4 separate regions of the Homo sapiens genome follow, and regions 1, 3 and 4 are each linked to region 2. The links are contacts of gene promoters, found by promoter capture Hi-C in blood cells and fetal thymus (Javierre and others, 2016). All regions are on one chromosome and are shown on one strand. The core of a region is centred on a gene start or on the middle of the fragment in contact, and the rest is flanking DNA. Distances in the headings are between cores, read along the strand shown. Region 1 overlaps UBE3D (ubiquitin protein ligase E3D). Region 2 holds the start of IBTK (inhibitor of Bruton tyrosine kinase). Region 3 overlaps UBE3D (ubiquitin protein ligase E3D). Region 4 overlaps UBE3D (ubiquitin protein ligase E3D).

What was found. The method cuts DNA at HindIII sites, captures the fragments that hold promoters and counts their contacts. A CHiCAGO score of 5 or more calls a contact.
Region 1: a contact is called between a fragment that was not itself captured here and the fragment with the promoter of IBTK in region 2, in 2 of 17 cell types (total CD8 T cells and activated CD4 T cells). The highest score is 5.4, in total CD8 T cells.
Region 3: a fragment that was not itself captured here is called in contact with the fragment with the promoter of IBTK in region 2 in 2 of 17 cell types (erythroblasts and endothelial precursors); the score reaches 5.2 in erythroblasts.
Region 4: a contact is called between a fragment that was not itself captured here and the fragment with the promoter of IBTK in region 2, in 1 of 17 cell types (non-activated CD4 T cells). The highest score is 5.1, in non-activated CD4 T cells.

The regions. Positions count from the first base shown.
Region 1 is chr6:82,966,858-82,973,679 of GRCh38, reverse strand. All of the region lies in intron 8 of UBE3D (ubiquitin protein ligase E3D), which reads left to right. Among named protein-coding and RNA genes, the nearest start is that of UBE3D, 96 kb to the left of the region's middle. The HindIII fragment of the contact is 3,645 bases long and covers 1,817-5,461 here.
Region 2 is chr6:82,242,709-82,248,993 of GRCh38, reverse strand. It overlaps IBTK (inhibitor of Bruton tyrosine kinase), which reads left to right and starts at 1,250. Exons shown (of 29, transcript NM_015525.4): 1 at 1,250-1,432. RefSeq lists a silencer at 1,448-1,617. The HindIII fragment of the contact is 2,262 bases long and covers 94-2,355 here.
Region 3 is chr6:82,908,517-82,915,158 of GRCh38, reverse strand. The region is part of intron 9 of UBE3D (ubiquitin protein ligase E3D); the gene reads left to right. Among named protein-coding and RNA genes, the nearest start is that of UBE3D, 150 kb to the left of the region's middle. RefSeq lists a silencer at 4,042-4,242. The HindIII fragment of the contact is 468 bases long and covers 3,309-3,776 here.
Region 4 is chr6:82,936,371-82,943,196 of GRCh38, reverse strand. All of the region lies in intron 9 of UBE3D (ubiquitin protein ligase E3D), which reads left to right. Among named protein-coding and RNA genes, the nearest start is that of UBE3D, 130 kb to the left of the region's middle. The HindIII fragment of the contact is 5,127 bases long and covers 1-4,336 here.

The sequences.
Region 1 (6,822 bases), core at 2,390-4,889, 720 kb before region 2:
TGGAACCAAATACTGAGGCTAGCCTCTTCAAAATGAACAGAATGTGGATTAATGAAATCCAGCTATCAGAGATAGCTCATTTTAAGGGTGTGGTGACAAGGAAAGAAGCTAAGAATTCTATCATTTTTAATAAAAAATAGTGGCCTTCGGAAGTTTCAATGAAATTCTTCTTAGGTTTTAAAGCTGCCATTTAAAAATATTTTGTTCTACCTCGGAAAAATTTAGCAAACATTTTTCTCTTCAACTCAAGGTGCTCTTCGGGGAGGAGATGCCTTTTAGTGCATAAAGTCTGTGAATAAAACTGGAGTATATTTTCCAGTTTCAATAATCAGACCTCTCTGCAAGTCAGTTAATGAGTTAATAGCAGATATAAAATTTAGGAGATTGTCAGGACTGACCTGATAGATTTTGTTGGTTATATTTATTTTATCTAGGTGCATACAAATCAAATTCTTATAGGAGAATCAAATCCAAGTTGCTAGAAATGAATTTTTCTCTATGCCAAATAACTTGGGAAATTGATTCTCCTACTTTGCATAAAATGGGTGTGGCCAGTTTTGTCTTGTTTTTTTGTCTTTTGTACTATAATGTGGTGTTGTCTTTTATTCAGTCGTACAACTTTGGGGATTCCTGAATAAGCTTTTACCTGTGGTAGAAACAACAGATTTCAGAACATTAGTAGCTTCTCATTTATATAGCTTTTTAAAATAATTTTATAGCATATTCTTTAAAACAATACTGTTAAACATATGTGTTTTCAAAGTTAACTGGTAATGATTTTATTTCTATCATAGCTCATTTAAGAGAACAGTTACTTTAGAAGGATAGACTAGACATGTATTTCTTTTTAAAAATATAATTTTTGGTTATGTGAATGATTCATGTTCAGATTTCAAAAATAGAAAATGTCCTAAAGTGCATCATTTTATTTATATAACTTCTTGAAATTATAGCAGTCTGCAACATAAATGGTACAACAAAGAACACCAAGCTATATTTTTATGTACATTTAAATTTGTAGAATTATGTACCATTTTTAAGTATCTGAACTAAAACCAGGGTATTTCCAACATATAGCTTATATTTTTATATGATTATTTTTAAGAGCAGACTTAAAATCAACTCTACTAGAGTTACATTGACATGTGACTTCACAAAAGGTCTAAAGGCTTAAACTTGAGGGCTTTTTCCAAAATCAAGGGCTCTTGCACAGGTAGCATGAGATCTTGGTATTTGGATTCTCATCTCTTCCCATGGAGGGAGGGACAGAATTCTTAGTCATTAGGATTTGTCTTCTAATGGGTCAGAGAAATCCACTTATGACTTAGGGTTATGAAATTCAGTCACTAGTAGCTAAGATACCAAGATTGGTCAGGCCTTATTCATGTGAATTGAGTTATACCATTGCCAAGTGCCCTCTTGTGAAAGAACGGTATCTGGGTTTCCAAAGGAAGGGCATCTGAGGATAGACTTGGGAAGAGGTATAAAGGGAAGCCAAGGATACTGAAGATGATGGTACTCTGTGAGGGTAGGAATGGAACTCTGTGGTTGCATATGATGCAAACAACCAGAACCCACCCCGTTCTGAAGGCATGGGCTGAGAGAGCTCTGCTAGATCATCTCTCTCTTTTCTGCTGAAACCAGATGTGGTTTCACCATCTATCTCTGGTCTCACCATCTATTTCAACACAATCACTGCCAACCAATTTGAAGTGAAAAATGAAGAGAACCTATTTGTTATACCAGGTCTAGGACATCATCAAAGAAGAAAGCGTCAAACATTTTGAATACCTCTAATGCAACTCCAAATAAAGCTTCTATAAATAATGCCATTTTATCAATACCAGTAATATCAATATTAATAAATTAAATATATTTCCTGACATGTTTTTTAAAAATTCTTTCTGGCAAAAATAAACTTAAAAAAGACATCAAGAGCTATTTAAAAAAAATAGAGGCCAGGTGTGGTAGCTCATGCCTGTAATCCCAGCACTTTGGGAGGCCAAGACAGGAGGATCACTTGAGGCTAGGAATTCCAGATCAGCCTGGGCAACATAGCAACACCCTGTCTCAATATTTTAAAAAAAAGAAAACATCTTTAATCCTTGCTTTGTACCTTATGCATCCTAAACACTTTGCATTCACACTGGCAAAGGACTTCCACTTTGGGACAGAGTGGGTAATGCTGATTAATGAAAGTGTCAGCTGAGTTTGGCCCCTATGGGACAGGGAATCTAGTAATGCCAAGTGTCAGATTTATTTATGAGAATGTTATTAGAGTGGACCTAATTTATTATGTCTCAACCCACATACTTTGACTGCCACTTACTTAGGAGGGTGATTAGAGGATTAGAAATGCGTTTCTCAGCCTCCTAAGTTTTTAACTGATTTCCTCTGGTAATGTAATAGAACATAGTAAAAATGTGAGCCAAAAGACCTTATTTCTGAAAACTTTTCCTAAATGGTTATATTTATTAATGTGCTAACAAATATTATGATATATAATTAGAAGTTAGTTCAAAATGGAACTGTTTTAATTATTTTGTCAGAAAATAGTAAATTAGAAAAAGAGAATTTTGACTGAAAAGCAGCGATCCTTACTCAGGGGTCCATAAATCTTGAAAACATTATGCTAAGTGAAAGAAGCCAGACCAAAAAGGCCACATGTTGTATGATTCTATTTATATAAAAGATGGTAATGAATGGACTTGGAGAGGAGGGTGATCTGAGAAACACCCAAAATTATATGCAAAATCCTCTTTGTAAAATGAATGTTGTTGAGGAGAGAGAGTCCCTAGTTTTTGTTTTTTGTTTTTTGTTTTTGTTTTTGTTTTTTGTTTTGAGACAGAGTCTTGCTCTGTCACCCAGGCTGGAGTGCAGTGGCGTGACCTTGACTCACTGCAATCTCTGCCTCCCGGGTTCAAGCGATTCTCCTGCCTCAGCCTCCCGAGTAGCTGGGACTACAGATGCCTGCCACCACGCCCGGCTAATTTTTTGTATTTTTAGTAGAGATGGGGTTTCACTGTGTTAGCCAGGATGGTCTCGATCTCCTGACCTCGTGATCTGCCCGCCTCGACCTCCCAAAGTGCTGGGATTACAGGCGTGAGCCACAGCGCCCGGCCCAGAGTCCCTAGTTTTAACTATATTGTCATTGAGGCCTATGACCTTCAAAATGGTTTAAAAATCACTACTTAAAAACCTTTTTAAAAATGAATTTCTGTCCTTTGTCCTCTTTTTGTAAATTCATAGAGGTTCTTTCTGTCAATAAGGTTTTCTGCCCTCTGCCTGTGATTTAAAATTTTTTTTATTAGCAATACAATTTTTTAAAATTATAAAACCCTTATAGATTTGTGTTTGTGGTAGTTTTTTAGAGTTTTTGGCAAGATTTATTTTATTTTTACATATATGCCTGTGATACATCTTGAATTTATTTTTGAAAATGATATGATAGGTTTTTAAATTTATTTTCTTCCAGATGAGTGGTTTTTTGAACTATCACCCTTAATAAATAATCAATTTTTCTGTCCTTAAATTGTAATAGTATATCATTTCTAGTATATTATATCATGTTCTATTATATATAATTATATATAATTATATATATAATAGTATATCATGTTCTATTATATGACTATGAGTAAACACCATAGAAATACGTTACATTTCATTAGGGTCTATTTTTGTATTTTGTGTTTTGTTCCATGGATCTATTTGTCTACTTCTATATTAACACCATTTTGACTTGATTACATTAGTTTTATTATATGTTTTGGTATCTGGAAAGCAAATATGCCTACTGAATTCTTTTTAACATGGTCATTTTCAAACATTTATTCTTGCAAGTAATATTATTTTATCCAGTTCTGATGAAAACCAACCCTTTTGGGATTCTAACTGAAATTACATTAAATTAAAATATAAATTTTGGGACCATTGACACTTTTATGATATTAAGTATATCTTTCCATTTTTTCATGTCTTGTTTTATGTTCTTGAGTAAGGTTATGTAGTCTAATTTCTGTAGCTCTTTGTCTTTTTTGTTAAATTTTCTAAGTTTGTTTTGTTTTGTTTTTAGAGAGGGTCTCACTCTGTCACTCGGTCTGGAGTGCAGTGGGATGATCTTGACTCACTGCAACCTCCACCACCTGGGTTCAAGGGATCCTCCTACCTCAGCCTCCCAAGTAGCTGAGCCCACAGGCATGTGCCACCATGCCAGGCTACTTTTTTGTATTTTTAGTAAAGACGGGATTTCACTATGTTGCCCAGGTTGGTTTCAAACTCCTGAGCTGAAGCAATCCACCCACCTCGGCCTCTCAAAGTGGGATTAGAGTCGTGAGCCACTGCACCTGGCCTCTTTCTAAGTATTTTTATCGTGATGTTCTTATTGTAAAAGAGGAAGGTTTTTCCTTACTATTTTTAGGCTTCACTTCCACCCCACCCCACCCCCACCCCCACCCCTGCCCTGTGTAATAGAGAGATTCTTGCTTTTTACATAAATATCTTGGGCACATTTTCTTAACTCTTGTTGTTAACACAGTCTCTCAGGCTTTCTAAGTAAAACAGTCATATCACCAGGGGAAAAGGGGATTAATTTTAACATCTCCTTTACAAGAAAGCGTTAATCAATGACAGTGACCACTCCTGTCTACTTCCTGATTTCAATTGCGATAATTGTATGTTTTGCCATTTATAATTTGATTTTGAGTATTGCTTACAAACTGATGAGAAAAGGCCTAATAATTGAGGCTACTGATGGCATTCCTGAAGTTGTGCAATGAAGCACCTCTGCAAATGACTCAACAAAATTTGAAAATAAGATAAAATTTTTAAAATGTAATTCACAGAAAGCAAATCCAAACAGCCAACAAATATATGAAAAGAAACTCTAGTTCACTAGAATTAAGCAAATATAAACCAGATATATAGCACAGAATAATTTTACTTCCATCAAACTTTAAAAACCCCAACTGTTAGTTCACTGTTGGCAGGAGTATGGGGCAAAGAGTACTCTGATGACTGGTTGTGAAAATGTGAATTGGCACAGACTTTCCAGAAATATCTATTAAAATTAAAAAATGCATATACACCTCAATCTGATATTACCACTCTTGAGATTCTATTCCAAACAAATCAAAGTACCAGAATGTAAAGAAATGTAAGCAAGGACATTATTGTAATATTGTTCATAGCAGGAAAAGAAAACTGGGAGAAAAGATAACCAAGGTATAGTATTTTAGACATACACACCTTGATGTGTTATATAGCCATTAAAGAGAGTGAATTATTAGTCCCAGAGCAGTTGATTTGAGGGCAGAGAGTGGTCAGTGGATAGTGAGAGATCAGTGATGGGGTGGGGGGCAGGGGAAATAGGGAGAGGTGAGGGAGGTTAAAAGGGGGAGAATGCAGTACAATATGAGATTTGGCAAAGATTTCTTAAACAGGACACAAAAAGTGGTAAGCTTTAAAAATACAAAAACTTGATTACATTAAAATTAAGAACTTTTTAAGCATGTGCTTATCATATGACCCAGCAATTGCATTTTGGGGCCTTTTATCCTGGAGAAATGAAAACTTAATGTTCACCCTAAAACCTGTACACAGATGTTCATAGCAGCTCGTAGCTATTATTTATAATAGCCCCAAACTGAATCAGCCCAAATGTCCTTCAGTAGATGAATGGATAAACAACTGTGATTATATTCCATGGAAATTTACTCAGTTATAAAAAGGAATGAAAGCTAGGTATGGAGTTGAGTAGCCTGTAATTGCACCTATTCTGGAGACTGAGGTGGGAGGATTGCTTGAGGCCAGGAGTTTGAAACTAGCCTTGATAATATAGTGATCCATCTCTTAAATTTTTTTTTTTTAAACTTAGCCTGGTGTAACAGTGCACACCTCTAGAATCAGCTTCTCAGGAGGTTAAGGTGGGAGGATCACTTGAGCCCAGGAATTCAAAACTGCAGTGAGCTATGATCACGCCACTGCACTCCAGCCTAGGTGACAGAGCAGGACCCCATCTCTTTTTAAAAAAGAAAAAAAATATGAACTGTTGATACAATTACTTGGATGAATCCCGAGGGAATTATGGTGAGTTATAAAAAAAGACTACATATTATATGATTCTACTTATGTAACATTCTTGAAATAACAAAATTATAGAGATGAAGAACAGATTAGTGGTTGCCAGGGGGTAGGGAGTGGAGGCGATGGGGAAGGGAGGTGGTTGTGCCTCTAAAGAGTTATCTTAAGAGATGCTCGTAATGGAACTGTTCTGTATGTTGGCTATTCAGTGTTAATGTGGTCACACGAGTCTGCACATGTGAAATAATTGCCTAGAAGTAAATACACATAGACACACACAAATGAATGCATGTTTAAACATGAGGTTTAAAAAAGGTTGGTGAATTATATCAATGTTGATGTAGTTATCCAGAATGTTACCATTAGGGGAAGCAGGGTGAAGGATAGACAGCATCTCTGTATTTCTTACAAATGCATGTGACTCTACAATTATCTCAGAACAAAAAGTGGGAAGAAATGGTTTAAATATTTAAAATGGAAAAAGTGAAGGACAAGGGAGAGCAGATGCCAGCTCGACAGAGTAAATCATGTGGGGCTTGATTTTCCCATTTGAGGCAGGGAATGGAAATAAAAGATTAATAAAATGAAAAAAATGAAAAAAATATTTTTAAGGTGGTGAACTACATAGTATAGAGACCAGTTTGTCTCACATTTTGTTTGCAAGTAAAAATTTTCTAGAATTAATTACAATAGCAACCATAATATGTTTGAGTTTCTGTTGGGAATATTTACTAGTTCTCC
Region 2 (6,285 bases), core at 1-2,500:
GTCTCGATCTCCTGACCTCGTGATCCGCCCGCCTCGGCCTCCCACATTGCTGGGATTACAGGCGTGAGCCACCGCGCCCGGCCAACTTAAGCTTATTTTCAAAACCACTCAATTTTGACATTACAAACTGGTTTTTGTTTTGTAGAAGGACATTAAGAATAAAGAGCAAAGAAACAATTATGTGCTGGGAAGGGCAGTAGGAGGGCTGGGTCCTAGTCTCCCTTTCTCTTTCGCTAAGCAGCTGTGTGGCTTTGGGCTAGTAACCTACCCTCCCACAAAAAAGGCTTCAAAAGAGAGCAAGCAGAGCTCAGTGGGCATTAAGACATGCGCAACTCCTTTCTTTTAGAGATTAGATGAGGTCGACTCAGTGGCTTGTAAAACTCAACGTGGCAGAGCTGTACAGCCAACTCATGATTCTTAGTGTCGTTTGTTTTGAGTCACACTACACCTCCTTGAACAATCATTTACTGAGTGCTTACCGTATTAGGCATTCAGCAGCAGTGTGTTTCCCATTCAGTAACCTAGTATTGATTATTGGCTACTGTCCCTCCTAGCATTTTTCACTTGACCACTTTCTAAATGGCCTTTAGATTCAGAGTTCAAGTGGAAAAAGCCTAGTGTAAGCCTGGTGTCAGGCAGTGAGTGGCGTGACCCGGGTCGGCAGCTAGTCCTACGGTGGTGATCTAAGAGGGCAGTGACGCCTTCTGACCAAGGGAGTGACTGCCAGATAATCCGGGTGTATGGAGATCCAGAGAGGGGTGAGGCTGGGTTTACGGAGACTACACCTTTGGCTTTGCAGTAACCCCACTGCTAAGGCCATGGGAGGAAACTCTTCTGTGCAGGACGCCTATGCACTTGGCTTCTGCTGCGTAGCGACCGGGTGTCCAAGGCATCCTGCCAGGTCTCCTTCTCCACTCGGGTTTAGCCTCCCCCGCGAGTCTCCAGCTACCTAGAGAGACGTTTCTAACTACGAGATGGCTGGCCTGAAAGGGACACTCCCATCACCGTTGTTGGCCTAGAGTTCCCCGCTGCGGCCTTTTTCTTTTCCCCGCCCCTGGCCTGAGTCAGCGGCCCCAAGGCCGGCGAGGTCAAGTTCCTTTGGGGCGCCAGGGAAAAGGCCATGGCAGAGGTGCTGCCACGCGAAACCTTCTGGGCAGGCACCAGCCAATCATCAAGAGACATACAGGAGCCCCAGCCAACCAGCGCCCGCCTTATTACTGGGAACCGCCCGCTCGGGCCCTTCCTCTACATCCCCGTTCCCGATTCCTGTAGTAGCGGCTGTATTGCAGCCGCCTGCCGAACTGACCCGGGTCTGGGGACTGGCCCCTCTGGCGCCGTTCGGTTTCTCTTATTGCCTTCACTGAGGATGAGTCCCTTTGTGGCTCTATGTGGACCCTGCGGAATCCACCGGCGCAGTTTCATCTAGCGACTGGTGAGGGAGGGCTTGGCGCTGCCCGACCGTGCGGTGCGGCTTCCCTTCAGCCCGGGGGCAGGGGGAGAGTATTCGCCTTCTGGAGGGTGCGGGTGGCTGCGGACGGCGGCGCGGGGGGACCGTGGGGAGGGGACTCTGTGGCCCCGAGGCTGCCGGGCTTCGCGCGAGGCGGCGCGGAGAGGGCCGAGTGGCCAGGGTCCCTACCGCCCCCCTCAGCTAATGAATGGCCTGTCCCGGCGATGCGCTACGCTCCCGTCCTGCTGGACACGCCCTCCAGCGACATTGCATTCCTAGTTGTGATAGTTATGTAGTGTCACTTTCCTTCGAGTCTTGGATTTGAAGCCATTCCTGTGGGCGCTCATGTTCCTTATCCCCTTCCTGGAGTCACAAGTTTGAGTCCACCCTGGGGATACTGACTCTGGGGAAGCAGGTCGTGAAATCTGATAAGTGGACATTGATTGCTATGTAAAAAGGAACTGATTCTTTTTGGAGGGTGGAGGGTTGAGAGAGACAGAGAAGACAGGCCCTTTGTTTTTGTAACAGGCAGAGCTGTCTGGCTCAAAGAGTTTTAGTTCAGCTGCGAATTAGGTAACATAGGCCGTCCTTGACTCCTGTTTTCCAACGTAGTTCATAAAACTTGACTGTGTTAGCCAGAGATTCATGTAGCACCTTTTAACTTATGCCTCGAAGTAGGCCATTTGAAATTTATCAGAAATACTGAAAGGATATGACTTTTATGAGTAGTAGTGTTTCAGTGCCCATAAAGTGGTGTAAATTCACAGGCTTGCCAGCCCCCTCTTGATCATTTCTCTTTTTGTATTTTGAATTCCTTAACTTTTATTTGTTTTAGAAATTGAGGCAAGGTAGATGAGGACAAAACTGGTTTCTAAAAATAATTACATTTGCAAATATTTGCAGAAGCTTTAGTCAAACCAGAGTTTACTTCAAGAAATTTTTTAGGCCGGGCGCGGTGGCTCACGCCTGTAATCCCAGCTACTGGGGAGGCTGAGAATTGCTTGAACCCGGGAGGTGGAGGTTGCAGTGAGCCGAGATCGCGCCGCTGCACTCCATCCTGGGCGACTGAGTGTGGCACCATCTCAAAAAAAAAAAAAAAAAAAAAGATGCCTGTAATCCCAGCAGTCTGGGAGGCCAAGGTGGGCGGATCACTTGAGGTCAGGAGTTCGAGGCCAACTTGGTGAAACCCCGTCTCTACCAAAAATACAAAAAAATCAGCCAGGCATGGTGATGTGTGCCTGTAATCCCAGCTACTCGGGAGGCTGAGGCAGAATCGCTTGAGTCTCCAGCTGCCCTACCAAACTGCTTTTGAATTCAATTATTTTGAATTGAATTCCATGGTACTTTTTTCTACTACACTATACTACTTGCATTGAAATTTTTCTAACTGCCTTTTGGGAGAGCAGTTTGGTAGCATAGAATAGGTGGGATCAAGAGCACTTTTCTGTCGGTATTATTTTAGGTAGGCTTTTTAAACTTTCACATGAATCTCCTCATCAGAAAATGAAAGTGATCATATTTACAGGGGCAATAATAAGGATTATATTTATGTAGAGCACTGTGTATAATGTATAAAACAAAATTTCACCTATAATTTTTGTGTGTTTTTTCCGTTGTTTAATTTTGTTTTGCTTTACTCACTTCCAAAGTATTGACCCCTTACTCTTCTTTCTAGTTTCCCTATCTGTTCTCCAAGCCAGAAACCTGGGAATTACCACCACATCTTGTCAATTCAAGATCCTAAGTATGTCTTTGGATTGCCTGCCCTTTTTTTTTTAAATCTCTAAGAAAAGGCACATAAGGCTGTTCAAAATCCTGTCTATCCTTGTGTGTATGTTAGGCCTCACTTCTTTCTGTCTTCTGAATTATTTAGAAATTTTGGAATGGACCAAGATGATTCTAGTTCTTTTATATTTACTATCCCTTCTGCTTCAAATGTGCTCTCACCCAGAATTTATCAGGCCAACACATATGGTACTCTTTTTTTTTTTAGAAGGAGTCTCGCTCAGTCGCTCAGGCTGGAGTGCAGTTGCATGATCTTGGCTCTCTGCAGCCTTGACTGACCAGTTTTAAGTGATCCTCCCACCTCAGCCTCCAGAGTAGTTGGGACTACAGGGATGTGCCACTACGCCTAATTTTTGTATTTTTTTTTGTAGCGATGGCTTTCACCATGTTGCCCAGGCTGATTTCAAAGTCCTGGGCTCAAGTGATTTGCCTGCCTCAGCCTAACAAAGTGTTGGGACTACAGGCATGAGCCACTGTGCCTGGCCAGTACTCATCTTTTAAGTCTTAGTTTATACATAGTTTATCTCCTGTAGAAAGTCTTACCTGGACCCCTCTTCTGCACTCCCCGTTCCTATGTGTCACTTGTTTTATCTTGACCATAGGTTTATAATTATGATATGTTTTAGTTACTTGCCTAAATAAAATTACTCTCTTCTACCAAACTGTGACCCTTTGATAATAGGAACTGTGTAATAGATCATAAGTTTTGTTCAGTTAGTACATATGTTAAACTAGCTATGCATCCACCTGAGTATTATCCATGAACCTGTATTTTATTTTATCTAAAATATTTAGGTCCTAATTATTTTTGTATTCCCAATGCCTTGTGACCTACTATGGATGCGCTGAAGAAGACAGTGTAACGTAGCAGAAATAGCACGGACCTCATCATTAAACAGATCTGTATTTGAAGTCTGACTCCCTCTTTTCTTGGTGGTATGATTTAGGTGGTTTACTTGACTGGTCTGATGTAAAGCATTCCGTATGTATTAGGTCTTTAAATGCTTATTTCCTTTGCTTTCTTCCCCTTCTTTAAGCAGTTTTTGAATGCATAGATAAGAAGTACAATAGGCATTGGAAATATGGGCCTGGAGTTTAGGGCAAATATGTGAGCAAGAGACAGATTTGGGGATTTATAATCATGTGTACGGTAGAGTTAAAAGCATGAAAAGGATTGAAACTATCAGGAACAATATGAAGTAGAGGACTGAGGATTATTTCAGAGAAGCCCAGTTTGAAGGACAGGGGAAGCGATAATGCCCTAGGAAGAAGTGGTTAAGAGAGAGAGCCCATGCTTAAATGTTTCTGCGACTTCCTGCCCTTCCTGGATCTCTTTTAGACTCCTTAAGGGAATGAGGTTTTAAAGACATAAAAGCAGGGAAGGCAAGTAAGAATTGAAAATATCTAAAAGTGTTTGGTAATTTGGAAGTCATTAGTAACTTTAGCAATAATGATTTCTTTGGAGAAGTGGTAACAAGTGATAATGAAGCTCAAACATGAATTTTGGAGTTAAAATGTATTACCTTTTTATGACTGAAGAAACAATAGTAATGAAAACTATTATTTGTCGAATGCATATTTAGTGCCAGGTACCATGTTAGGTAGTTTCATTTATCATTATAGTAACCATGTGAAGTCCATGGATTGTTTCTATTTTCAGATGAAGAAACGACTTGGAGAGATTATGTCATTTTTTAGTTATATAACTGATAACAGCTGACATTGCTATATTTGAATCTATGTATGTAAAACTCTAAGAAATCCTAGCTCTTAATCGCTTCCATGTTTATGTTCATAGTATTCTGTAGGTGCCGCTTTCTCTATATGATAGTATGGAATGACTTTTTAACATTCTTTTTTCCCCCCTTTAAATGTTTACATTATATATACTAATGAATTAGGGAATTCTTTTCTGTTGTATCTTAATTCTTTAATGTAAGGTTTGAGTGATTCACCAGTAAGTAGTTCCTTCCAGGTATTATGCATACAATGAAAATACAAACATGGTGGGATTTTAGAGCTTTAAAAGAATGAAATTAACTGGATGAACTATTTTGCCACATACAATAAATAGTCCCTACTTATCCAAGGACACATTCTAAAACCCCCAGTGGATGCCTGAAACTGCAGAGAGTACTGAACCCTATATATGCTATGTTTTTACAATTTGCTAACCAAGAGGGCTACTCAGTGACTATCGAGTTGGTAGCATGTACAGTATGGCAATGCTGGACAAATGTATGATTCATGTCTCAGGTGAGGTGGAGTGGTTTGGAGTGGGACACTATGAGATTTCATCATACTGCTCAGAATAGTATGCAATTTAAAACATAAATTGTTTATTTCCAAAATTTTCATTTAATATTTTTGGACTATGGTTGATTGTGGGTAATAGAAACCATAGAAAGCAAATGGATAATGGGGAACTACTGTGTCATGCTTTCCATTTTTAACCTTTTAAAGTACTTGACGATTGGTACCTTTTTTTCTCTTTGCTACCAAACACTTTTTTTTTTTTTTTTTGAGACAGAGTCTCTCTGTCGCCCAGGCTGGAGTGCAGTGGCACGATCTCGGCTCACTGCAAGCTCCGCCTCCCAGGTTCACGCCATTCTCCTGCCTCAGCCTCCCAAGTAGCTGGGACTACAGGCGCCCGCCACCACACCCGGCTAATTTTTTGTATTTTTAGTAGAGACGAGGTTTCACCGTGTTAGCCAGGATGGTCTTGATCTCCTGACCTCGTGATTCGCCTGCCTTGGCCTCCCAAAGTGCTGGGTTTACAGGCATGAGCCACCGTGCCCGTCTTTTGTTTTGTTTTGTTTTGTTTTTGAGACAGAGTCTTGCTTTGTCACCAGACTGGAGTGCGGTGGCGGGATCTCGGCTCACTGCAGCCTCCACCTCCTGGGTTCAAGCATTTCTCCTGCCTCAGCCTCCCAAGTAGCTGGGATTACAGGAGTGTGGCCAGCTAATTTTTGTATTTTTAGTAGAGATGGGGTTTCACCATCTTGGCCAGGATTGTCTTGATCTTTTGACCTCATGGTCCGCCCACCCCGGCC
Region 3 (6,642 bases), core at 2,293-4,792, 660 kb before region 2:
TGCTAGATCTCATTTTTCCCTATCCCAAGTTATAGAACATTCTATAAAACTTAAAACTTTTTGCTTCTAAAAATATGCCCTCAACTCTTTATTGTCTGAAGAAAAAATGGAAGGGAGAGCATTCCACAGGTTATAAAAGAGAAAAAGGTGGGCAATCCACTCAGGGTTTCAGGTACAACTATAGCAACACCCAGACCTTTGGGATGAAGATCATCCTGTGAGAAGCCAGGGAAATGGAAAAAGTAATTTCCATTATCCTCTCAGGATGAGAGAGGATGGACATAGGTTCTTTTTCATAAGCAGCTTCAGTTCATCGCTCATATTTTCTTACCACCAGCAGGCATTCACAAAGATGTTGGGAAGCAAAAGGTATCGTCTTGATTGCTAAATGGGGAAGTAATAGAACAGCAGTAGATAAGGGGCTCTTTGCAGAATGCTATAAATTATTTTTTCAAAAATGAGTGTGGAAGTCACAGCTTTGTTAATATTGTATAGGATACAGTCTAACAAGGATATCAGTTCTCCTACTCCTGGCAGCAGAAGCCTTTCCTTCAGCTAATGGAGCAGAACACTAATTTGGAAAGCAGAGAGAAAGTAAAGCTGCCCTGCTTGACGCCGAGGTGCCACAGTAGAGTCCACTTTTCCAGCCAACTTCTCCCTACCCCATGTCGTCTGTGTCTGCACTGGACACATTTCCACTTGTGGCACCTTGGAAACCACTGGTCTAATTGCTCTGGTCTCTACCCAATCCACTGCATTTCACTTGGTTTTGCTCACTGACACCTTTAAGAATCTGATAAAAGCTTTGGGTCCTATTCCTTTAAAAGAGTGCATCTGCTTGAAATTTTCTGTGCTGTTTCAAAGCATTCATGGACTGCTCCACCATCACCAAGGCACATAAATTCCTCAGACCTAAGCCCTTTCTAAAAGTCAGACTGCATCTTTTTCACACTAAACAAAATAAAAATAAACAAAAACAAAATATAAGTCTAACCACCTAAACACACTATACCTTCATCATTTTAAATTAGTTTTGGAGGAAACTGAAAGAAATCTAGGTTCTGGTTTTAGCTCTGCAGCTAGTAGCTGGATTGCCTTCAGCAAGTCATGTAAGACATTTTTGGGCCTCAGTGTCTCTGTCTCTTAAACTCTAGTGTTCTGTGTTCAGCTGTAGTCTTCTGTAATTCTGTGAGCCAAAGTGAGAAGTCAGTAGTCCTCTCTATGACCAACCATATGCTGTTTGCATCCATTTATTCATTTTTAGCTTATGAGGGAATGGCCTTTCCTTTCACTCAGGCTAGATGTGAATGTTGTAGTTGATAAGCAGGTCAATATTGACATACTTATATGTAAAAAGACACTTTCTGCTGTTAAGTTTGAATCATTAAGTTCTGGGTTTGTTTTGTTTTGTTTTATTTTGTTTTGATCCAGCTATCCAGTCCTCTTCCTCACATTTCCATCACCTCCATCCCCAAGCAAAAAGTAAACTGATTTATCACCTTCCCTTCCCTTGACTCATTTAAAGTAATACACTAATGCCCTGAGTTAAACTGTATCTAAATAAGTTTGGATGATAGAGGAAAAGATAATGGTGACAGGTAAGGCCCAGTGAATGGGATGCTAATGTAAAGGGGCATCTATGGAGATAATGAATAAGTGGGTCATGGGTAAATGAAGTAGGAGCACAACTCAAGAGAGAAGAGGGGTTGGGTTAGGACATGTGCTACACTTCTTTTACAACCTAGTTATCCTCAGCCTACTTGAAATTAACCCTGTCATTCCTTTTCTGAGAAAAAAGAATTCTTTGCCTGGAGCAGTCATTTCTCCCAGGCTCTAAAACCCAGCCATAATAATGATGCTGCTAAAATTATAATTTATTGGACGTCAACCTTGCAACAGTACAGTGATAGAAACTTTGTGGATTTTAATTCACTTAGTGATTATAACCACCCTTTGGTACTTGTGCAGCTATTTCTGTTTTTCACATGAGGAAACTGAGGCTTAGAGAAGCTAAGTCAGAGCCATATTGGCCTCAAACCACAGAGCGAGAATCTAAGCACAGGTTATTTGATTCTAAAGCCTCTTTTTCCCCACTGGATTGCATAGCCACTGGGCTTTCAGTTAATAACTAGTGAAACAGTCCTGTAAAACTGTCCACCTTAGTGAATCTGCCTGCAGGTAGGTTTATTGTTACTGTGGCTCCTCATCTTTTGCAGGTGAATACCATGTATGAGATCATTTTGGAGGAGAGTGGCATGCCTAGAGTAGAGAATAACCACTGACAAGATTCTCAGGATTTAAAAAAAAGGTTGTTTGTTGTTTTATTTTGATTTGCTTTTTATTGCCTGACACATTGGAGGAACCCAATGAATACATCCAGAGGATGACTACGTGGATGTATGAGTGAGTGAAAGGCAGTTTATTCTACAAGGTTTAAATGAACTAATTTTGCAATAGCAAATACAGAAAGCAAAATTTTAGCATTATACCCTGGTATGACTTTATTTCTATATTTCAGGAACAAAACATCATATAACTTTCCACATAACTCTTTGAAGCTCTTGATAGGTCTTTTATATTCCGCTTCCCAAATCCTTCTGTGTAGTTATAAGTCGAAAGTAGAGTATTACACCACTTTCATTGGAAAAAAGACTAATTTTACATTGTAATGATTGTACCTGTTCTGTGACAAAGCCTTGATTAAAAAAAAAAATCCAAAAATTCCAGTTTAATAGCTCAAAGAAAGAAGATTGTCTCTAGGAGAACTAGGACACAGTTTTACAGTTTACTCATTGTAAAATTGGCCTTCAGTGTGCTAAAATGGAAAAAAGGATGAATGCAGAAGAAAAAAAGCATAGAATAACTGACTAAGCTCGAAGGTCATTAATGACACTAAGAGGAGTAAAAATGATAAAGTGAACATAGAAAATCATATTCTGTGAAAAATGAAATAGAATTGCTCTTAGCAAGAAAAAAAAAAGCATGGAAGAAATCTTTTTAGTACATTTGAGGGAAGGGAGGAAGGACTGTGTGCCCAAATGAGTAGCTCTGTTGGAGCCAAAGAATGGGTTCTAATCCTTATCAGAACTTCAGAACAAATTTCTTAAAAATGTAGGTCAATAAGAGCTTATAGTTAGGAGAGAAGCCTGGTTTCCTGCAGACATGTTTTCTGTTCCCCAGGAAGAAAGTCCAGTGTCAGTCAGCCTGTGAATCCAAATGTGTGATTCTAAGGAGGTACAGCATTAATTGGAGCAGCTGCTAGCACAGGAAGAGTGTCCAGCCTTTCTGACCGATGACAGGAGAAAGCTTTAAGCAGGGTAGATAATCAGCTCCTCCCATGACTTCTCCTGAGATTATAAAATTATCAGTGTAAATGTTGTGATCCCCCGTCCTAATCCTGTACATCCCCTTTTTCTACCCCCTCACCTTCATTGGGGAAAACTATTCATTATTTAGAAGGCAGCAGCACTAGTGAAATGCACAAAACTCAGATCATTGTTGAAAGAGCTGATCAATGTGTTTAAATGAAAGTCTCAAAAGAAATAAAATCTGTCTCACATGTGGCCCATGTGCTGAGTTTAAAAGGTTGCTATGGGAAACTTTCAGCTAACCTTTAGCCTCTGTGACTATATATTGCCTAGCTCAGACTTGTGAGAAGTATTCTAATTTATAAGTTTTATTTTCATGTAATTAGAAAAACAACAAAAACCAGTTATTGTCTCAAATGTTTGGGCCCTTGTTATTCCATTTAGAAGCAGTATATTGGTAATGAAGCTTTTTGCTGTGTCCCCAAATACTGCATTTCAAAACTTCAATTCTGGTCCTTTACCATGTAGGAAGATGATTGGAGAGTACACAATGAACTGATGATCAAGTCTTGCATTAAGGTAATAAATGAAAAGACTGTCACAAAATCTATTCATGTCCCCCCTGAGTTTTTTTTTTTTTTTTTTTTTTTTTTTGCCAAAATGTTCTTGCTGTGACCTACTTCTACAGATAAGAAAAATGATTTTTCCATCCTTCTATGACATTATGGCTATAGTGAACTGTTCCCAAGTGTCTTGGTGTAGGTGGCCTTGTGAGGATAAGAATTAATTATTTTTAGACTGCTGATGCATCACCTCTGTGGTGTCTATATTTGTCTTCTAAGAATGCATCATCACTCTCTAATTATAGGTGATCTGGTGGGATTAGATCTTTTGAGTTAAACAGACTAGGATGACACAAAATATGCATGGAAAGTAAACATTTGAAAAATTGGTGAGCCACAGTGATTGTTAAGATCCCAACTATACTGCAGTGTTCAGAATAACACTCAGAACAATCTTCACATTGTCAGTGTCACCACCTGCCTAATTCCTACATTTTAAATCAGTTGCCAATTGAGTTTATTTTTATGTTTTCAACTTGAAAATGTATCACCTAATTCTAATTCTTGGACTCTTGCAATGTTACCCCAACAGCTTTTGTGAAAGAAAGAAAAAAAAATAGGAAATCACCATGGAACCTCTGGAATGCTGCTCTGTGACAGCCGTCTCTGCAGAACCAGGAGAGCAGTGAGGGCTGTGGCACCTTGGTCTCAACTTTGAGGCTTGTGAGGCAGTACAGAGCAGAGCTCTGAGCAAAGTTTTAAAGAGCAGATCATTTTCTGGGCAGGATGTTTTGCCAAGTAATGTGGAAGTAATAGAGTACTGGGGTTGAAAATAACAAATCTCCCAGTCTCTTTTCAGCTCCATCCTATAAAAGGTTATTTTCTCTGATGTTGATGCAGAAAAGTAATAAACCTAGATTCTAGTTATATAATTAATTTGTCCAATCATTCATTCCAGGCAACAAATATTTACTGAAAACCTTCTGTGTACAAGACCTCATAGAGAGATATACAGAGATTTAGATAAGATGTTGTGCTTCCACATGAATGGTCCCTTTGCAGGCAGGAGTGGATACGCAAGGGTTTTATTGGGAAATCTAAAGCACAAAGTGTCGTCAGGAAGAGGCATTTGGTTCCCTACTCAGTGTCTGTGTGTGTGGACTGTGTCACAGGCAAAGTGTGGGAATTTAAAATCACCAGTGCTTTTCCTCTTTTCTTGAATCCCAGTCTAAGAAGTAGCTTTCGGGAATCACAAATTCAAGTGTTTAATCGATGATGAACATAAAGCTGGAGCATTTGAACACGTTGAGGGTAGTGACCAAAGTGCAAGGGTGCCTTTCTAGTCCCCCAAGATCACTTCTAAAACTCAGTGCCATTTTAAACAGTGAAGTTGGGAGGAAGGGGAAGGATCGCATCCAATTTCATTCCCCTACTGTGCAGCAGATGTGCCCACAGGAACAACTGCACAGTGCGATGTTGTCAGGTTTCCAAAAGAATTTAGCTAATGGGCTTCATTGCTCATAGACCTCGAATCCCAGAGAATCAACATGAAGGTGACAGACAAGTACAAAACTTGAAGCTTCTAAGAGTGAGTAAGTGATGAAGTTTTTGTGAGCAGCTTTTCCAACCTAAGAGTTCTAATTTGCCCCACCCAAAATTTGAAGCAGCTACCCTTGCACAAAGGGAAAGAAAGCAGATGTGAATGCTTATGTTAAAAGTCAGCTAATTTAAACCTAAGGAAAAAAATTCTTAGCTGTGGAGAGGGCCAGAATATTGAAGGAGCTCTGCAGCATCTCCTCTGGAGGCATTTCTGAATAATATCTCTTGAATGGCTTAGCTGTACAGGGCTGCCTCCAGGCTTAGCAGAGAATATATTCTGGGTACCATTGTAAGTGTTAGGGAAGGCCTGAAAATCACTGGCAGAAAGGCTAATGTTATACAGTTCAGATTCCCCCAAGGAAGAAAATGTTTATGCAATTCAACTTTGGTAACCTGAGTTGTAAGCTACTTGTTTTCTGCAAACATCAGAGTTAATAGTACCGGTACCCTAAACTACTAGTTCACAGCATATTTTTGGATCCATTTTTCTTTCCACTGAAGAACAACTTTTAACTTGTTATCAGGAATGTTCTCTTAGATTCAGAGAGAACCACAGAAGTCCGTTGCCAGTTTGTTACTGTGACCTGTGGGACAGGGGTAACCCCTTCAGAAGTCCTCACCCACCTGCACACTTGCCACACTCCCTGTGACTACTTCAGACTGCATTAATTGAGCACAGAGCCATGGGGCCAGGAAAAGTGTGGCACTACAGAGAGGGGCAAGTGAAATGCTGAGGCTTCCTGGGAAACCTGGACTGACTCACCTGCAGCCTGAGCCAGGCCCTGCTCCAGTCCCACACTGCTTTATGACCCCAGGACTGTCTCTGTGCCCTGGCTGTATAAATATCTCCCTGAGGCCTTCAGGAAGTTTCGAGTAGCATAGTACGTGAGTAAGTTATGCAGTGGAGGAAGGGAAGAAAGGAAGAGTGTATTTGAAAGGAGAGCTGTTGACAAGAAGTCCTATACCCCATCCATCTTTCTCCTAATATTTTTAATAAACATGTATTAAGCACAGTTTGTATATGTAATGCATTTATTGAACAGTGGAACTCATAGGATTGAAATATGAAATTTTTTCCCCCAATCTTCAACCACATTTTGGAGTTAGGAAAGGTGTTGCTGAGTTTCTTTTTGTTTTATTTCTTATTTTCGTATTTCAGTAGCTCTAGAGGT
Region 4 (6,826 bases), core at 524-3,023, 690 kb before region 2:
CACAGGGGAGAAATTGGCCAAAACAAAGGGGCTACAGGCCCCATGTAAGTCTGAAATCCAATAGGGCAGTCATTAAATCTTAAAGTTCAAAACTGATCTCCTTTGACTCCATGTTTCACATTCAGGTCATGCTGAGGCAAGAGGTGAGCTCCGATGCTTTGGGCAGCTCTGCCCCTGTGGCTTTGCAGGGTACAGCCCCCCTCCTGGCTGCTTTCATGGGCTGGTGTTGAGTGTCTGTGCAGGTGCACAGTGCAAGCTGTCGGTGGAGCTACCATTCTGTGGTCTGGTTGATGGTGGCCCTCTTCTCACAGCTCCACTAGGCAGTGCCCCAGTGGGTACTCTGTGTGGGGGCTCAGACCCCACATTTCTGCTCCTCACTGCCCTAGCAGAGGTTCTCCGTAAGGGCTCTGTGCCTGCGGCAACCTCTGCCTGGACATCCAGGCATTTCCATACATCCTCTGAAATCTAGGTGGAGCTTCCCAAACTTCAATTCTTGACAACTGTGCACTCACAGGGCCAATACCACATGTAAGCCACCAGGGCTTGGGGCTTGCACCCTTTGAAACAATGACCTGAGCTGTACGTTGGCCCCTTTTAGCCATGGCTGGAGCTGAATAGGCAGTGGCTGGGATGCAGGCCTGGGCCTGGCCCACAAAACCATTTTTTCCTCCTAGCACTCTGGGCCTGTGATGGGAGGGGCTGCCCTGAAGGTCTCTGACATGCCCTGGAGACATTTTTCCCATTGTCTTGGTGATTAACATTCTGCTCCTTGTATCTTATGCAAATTTCTGCAGCCAGCTTGCATTTTTTCCCAGAATATGGGTTTTTGTTTTCCATCACATTGTCAGGCTGCAAATTTTCCAATCTTTTATGCTCTGCTTCCCCTTTAAATATAAGTTCCAATTTCAGAACATATCTCTCAAAGTTCCACAGATCTCTAGGACAGGGGCAAAATGCCTCCAGTCTCTTTGCTAAAACATAGCAAGAGTGACCTTTCTATTCCAGTTCCCAACAAGTTTCTTATCTCCATCTGAGACCACCTCAGCCTGGACTTCATTCTTCATATCACTATCAGCATGTTGGTCAAAACCATTCAATAATCTCTAGGAAGTTCCAAACTTTCTCACATCTTCCTGTCTTCCTCTGAGCCCTCCAAACTGTTCCAACCTCTGCCCGTTTCCCAGTTCCAAAGTCACTTCCACGTTTTGGGTATATTTATAGCAGCACCCCACTCTACTGGTACCAGTTTACTATATTAGTCCTTTCTTGCTGCTATAAAGAACTCCCTGAGACTGGGCAGTTTATAAAGAGATTTAATTAACTCACAGTTCTGTATGGCTTGGGATGCCTCAGGAAACTTACAATCATGGCAGAAGGTACCTCTTCACAGGGCAGGAGGAGAGAGAATGAGTGCCAACAGGGGAAATGCCAGATGCTTATAAAACTATCAGATCTCATGAGAACTCACTCACTATCACGAGAGCAGCATGAGGGAAGCTGCCCCCATGATCCGATTACCTCCACCTAGTCCTGCCCCTGATGCATGGGGATTCTGGGGATTACAATTCAAAGGGAGATTTGGGTGGGGACACAGAGCCAAACTGTATTACTGAAGAACTTAAAAAATAATAATATAATAACTTATAGGGGCTCCTAGAAATAGATAGACAGAGGCCTGGGAATTTTACAGGTAAGTAGCAACAATGGGCTATAGACAAGAGAAAGTGAACTTTTTATCTCTGCACTCTTTTTTTTCTATATACTTTCAAACATTGTACTACATAAATGACCTCATCTGTTATATTCCACTTTCATCTCTGGGTGAATTATAGCCATTATTTTTTTTTAAGTCATGTTTTCCCCTAATTATATATATAAAATAAAACCTTTTTTCATAAAAAAAATTGGAAAATTCATAAAAATATAAAGAAAATTAAGATCACTGGGAGTAACCAGTATTGACATTTTAAAGTAATTGTTTTTTATTTTTTTGGAGATAGTCTTGCTCTGTCACCCAGGATAGAGTCCAGTGGCACGATCTCAGCTCATTGCAACCTCCGCCTCTTGGGTTCAAGCAATTCTCCTGCCTCAGCCTCCTAAGTAGCTGAGATTACAGACGCCACACCCGGCTAATTTTTGTGTTTTTAATAGAGATGGGGTTTCACCGTATTGGCCAGGCTCGTCTTGAACTCCTGACCTCAAGTGATCCACCTGCCTCGGCCTCCCAAATTGCTGCGATTACAGGTGTGAAGCACCGTGCACGGCCATTTTAGAGTAATTCTTAGTCCTATTTTTAATATCTGCTTATACACGCACACACAAATATATATATTAATATAAAATTGGGCTCATTGAAGATGCTGGCTGGGGCACAGTACTGACAATACTCTGCTCTTTCCTCTGTTTCATCTCCTGGCATGAAGACATATACTTTTCCCAAGAGACTATCAATGGGCCTTGGGGACATTATATATGAGGGTCTCAGGGTCCTGTTATTAACTGAGAGTGGGTAGGGAAGAAGGGTGTGAGTGATTCCACATGTCAAAGGGCTTCTGCAGATGTAGTCATGAAGCAGACAGACCTGAACCAAGATGGGCAGGCACTCCCTAGAATTTTCACTCAGCACTTGTGGTAATCCACGTGTGCATCCCAGGAAACTGAGATGGGAGTGGTGTTGGCACCTTCGGGTCCCTGGATGTGTCCACTATTTTTCCTTTCCTGCTAATGCCTTTGTCCTCAGTGTGCAAAGATAATCAGGACTTGAGTGCTGGTCATTGTATTTAGGAACTTCGTTCTCAAAGGTAGTGATTACTGTCCTATTTTCCATCTCTCTCCTCAAAACAATTTCTGAGAATTGCCTCAGCAATTTGGATGTGAAAGATGTTGTCATCTTCATTCCTTTTTGCCCTGCAGGGTGTTCTGTGGTCTGGGGAAATAAGCAGGTATTCTTAGTTGAATACAGTTCTCTAATCTGAATTGTCTCATCCTCTGCCTCCTTTCATTTTGGACTCTCCTTTTTGCCATACTCTAGAGAGAATGTGGAGGATGGGGCCAGGCAGACAGCCTGGAGGTTAACCAGAAATTTAGTCAGATCCACGTTGCTGCCACATCACATCTTTCAAAAGGCCGATTCCCTACCCAGATACCTGCCACGTGACCTGCCCCTCAGACATTTCTGTCCCTACCAAGGAGTTGAGGTTGTGGGCAAAGCTGGACAGTTTCTGTGCTTTCTGTAGCACTTCGTAGGGGAGGTCTGATGGGACTTAGGATGCTCTGCCCTTTGCTTTATTGAGAGAAGCAGGGATGATGTATAGCTTACTAAGTCTATAATTATGTTTCTTGTTTTGTTTGGTTGTGTTTAGTAAGTTAATTTTTTCCTGATTCTAAAGGAAATACCGTCATGTATCACTTAATGATAGAGATACATTCTGAGAAACATGTCATGAGGCATCACAGAGAATGTCATAGAGTGCACTTACACAAACCTGGATGGGCTGGGACAGACACAAACCTAGATGGGCTGGGACAGTCTACTACACACCTAGGCTATGTGGTATGGCCCATTGCTCCTAGGCTGCAAGCCTATATGGCACTGTACTGAATACTGTAGGCAATTGTAATACAATGGTAAGTATTTGTGTATCAAAATATATCTAAACATAGAAAAGGTACAGTAAAAATATGGTACAAAAGATAAAAAGTGGTGTACTCATATAGGGCAGCTCCATTATAATCTTATGAGACTACTGTTGTACATGTGGTCCCTTGTTGATCAGACATCATTATGCAGCTCATGACTGTATGTACCCACGATAGACGATGTGGTATGGGTTTTTCATTAGCAAAACAATACATATTTTTACTTTTAGCAAACTAAAAATATAGAATCTTAAAATTGAACCAATGGCTACCTAGCCCAATTCAGTCCATCTGTCCTTCATGGTGGGGAGAGAAGGCCTAGGGGCAAGGCCTGGCAGGCTCTGGGCAGCCTTTGTGATTTGAGAGCACTCACCTTCTCTTACCTCAGTATCTGTAACACAGAAATGGGGATAAGGAGAACTGGAAGACAGATAGGGTTTGTCTAATTCTGTGATGACATTATTATGAATGGTACTCGTTCTTTTTTTTTTTTTTAATAGACAGGGTGTCCAGTCTCACTCGGTCACCTTGGCTGGAGTGTGGAGTGTAGTAGCACGATCGTAGCTCACTGCAGCCTCGAACTGCTGAGTTCAAGCAATCCTCTTGCCTCAGCCTCCCATGTAGCTGGGATTATAGGTGCATGCCACCACACCAGACTATGGTGCTAGTTCTTAAATGTCAGTATACATGGGAAGCTTGTTTAAAATTTAGATTTCTTAGTGATCTAAGAAATCGGAGTCCTAGCCAGAGAGATTCCGATTCAATAGCCCTGAAGTAGAGCCCAAAAATCTGCATTAACAAGCATCCAAAAGTGTGTATGATAGGGAATTTCAAGAACGAAAACTGTAAGAAACACGTGATAAGAGAATATACACCAACTAAAGTGAGAAATGAAAGAATTTTAATTATAACAACATCTAGTCACAGGTCCAAATAGCTTAATTATTTTCCTCTTTTCTTCACTGCTCCTTATTAACCTGCACTTAACACAGTCTGTATTGCACTAAACTGAATAGTTGTCATCAAGTTTGTGTTTTTTTATTTTCCTTCTCTCTTTACCCTCAGATGTCTTGTAGAATCCTGGTGTTACCTCTGTCACTCCTCTTTCTGCCATTGGTGTGAACACCCGGCATCCCCACATCTCCTGATATCCGGGCTTCTTGCTTTTCTCAGGGATGTGCAGCCTCTGTAGTCCTCTCTCTCACGGCACGTCTGATGTGGTAGGACAGTCGCTCACGCTGATGTCAGACACTCAAGATCTAGTCTGGACTGCTGACCCTCTTCTAGGCAGATAACCCTCTATGGATCCCAGTTTCGTTATCTATGGGATGAAGGGTTGGGTTAAATTACATATGTAAGTGTTTTTAAAGTTCGTTTAAAGTAGAGGCACAGAGTCATTTTTGTCTGTTCCCAGCTGTTCCTGATTTATTCACCCAGTCTGCATAATATAACTGTATTCCTTAAATGTTATAGAACCTTATTTCTTGTGAACATCCTAGAAGTGTTTAACTGAGGAAAAATATAGATAAAGTCAGATTACATAGGGTTGTTGTGTGTGTGTGTGCGCGCGCACACGCCCGTGTGCTCTCCAAGAGGATGGAGTTGATGCCGTAAGACCTCCCTAACAGCTGCCAGGAAGGGACAGGAATGATGGGGTTAGGGTGCCATCTGGCCCTTGGCTCTTCCTGCCTCTGAGACATAGGTAACTCTTTCATGTGGAGGCTAGTAAAGGAAGAACCCTGTCCGAAGGGCTGTTTGTCACAGAAACTTGAAATGTTCTCTGACAGCCCGTAATTTCCCCCCTTTCGTCTTCCTTCTCTACCCTCCCTTAGACTTTTTGCACTTTCGGCTTCCCCTTTTATTTTTCACTCTGGTTCTTGGTGCACATTGAAACATTTATGGCTTAGGAATTTTTCAGTGATTTTGTCTTTGTATTTTACTTATAAGTATAGTTACTCCAAGAAAGATTTCTAAAATGTGAGCCTCTTCTGTTGCCTGGAGCTGCTACTGAGAGGACTTCGTTCTTTCCCACACACTGAGCATGGCTGTGTTCAGTCAAGTGGTGGGTCTTACTTCCTTGGAAAGGAGGCTAAAGATATGTGTCTGCTTTTAGAAACAAAGTGGGATCAAGATTGAAATAACTGAGCTTGCTTCACTCATGGAGGGAGCTGCTGTGTTGTTCTCAGGAGCTTTTTTTGTGTGTTTTTGTTTTTGTTGTTTGTTTGTTTTGTTTTGTTTTGTTAGAAGGGGGAAACAACAGCCTGGGGAGGATGTCAGCCTTCAAGGGAATGTAGTTTGGAAGGTGAAACTGTTCTCAAGCCTCCATTGAGAACCTCTTGTGAGCCCTCCTGGTAGTGAGTAATCATTTCAGCAAAGTGAGAATATTTAGAATAGAAGAGGTATTGGGGGATCTTTTCTAGTCTAAATGGAAATAAGCCAAAGGAAGCATGGGAAACAAGAATGAAATTATTTTATTGTCCCTTTGGTCCTTGCTCTTATAGACCTCATCTATGGAGCAGTAAAGAAAAGGGCCTGCAGTGGAGGTGGAAGATATGATTGGGCTCCTTCATGACTGTTATGAAACCAGCAACCAGCGTGACTGGACCTAAGTCACTTTCCCTGTCTATACCCTAGTGTTTTCATTCCTCCTGCGCTAAACTGATTCTAACTTCTAGTAGTTGAAAGTTTCACAGAAGTGTAAGAGCTTGTGGATTAAACTAGCCTGAAAAAGAAAAATTATCATCCAGTTTGCCCTTCTCTGAGATTAGCACATTGCTTCTTTGGGGTTTGGAGGTTGGAAGTGATGGTCACAAACCAAGTGATCATGTCTGGGCAGCAGGGAAGGGGCTTCAATTAGGGGCTTAAAGCAATTAGCATCAACAGTTGGCTTTCAGAAATTTAAGACAGTGTGATTAATCCATAGCATACAAAGGTTGTCTGGTATATAGTCCAAAGCTGTGATAACAGAGCACAGACTAAATTGGCAGAATAATGTTTCAGTGCTGGCTCCTTATCTTGACTCTTTAGAACTGAATGCAGTTCTTCATTAAAAAAAAAACAAAACCTGTATGTGTCCATAGTCCCTATATTTCTGGTTCTCTTCCTGCTGGTAGTAAATTATTATTTTCTTCTGATTTAACTTCAGCTTGAAAATCATTTGTAAAGGCAATAAATATTTGAGACATTG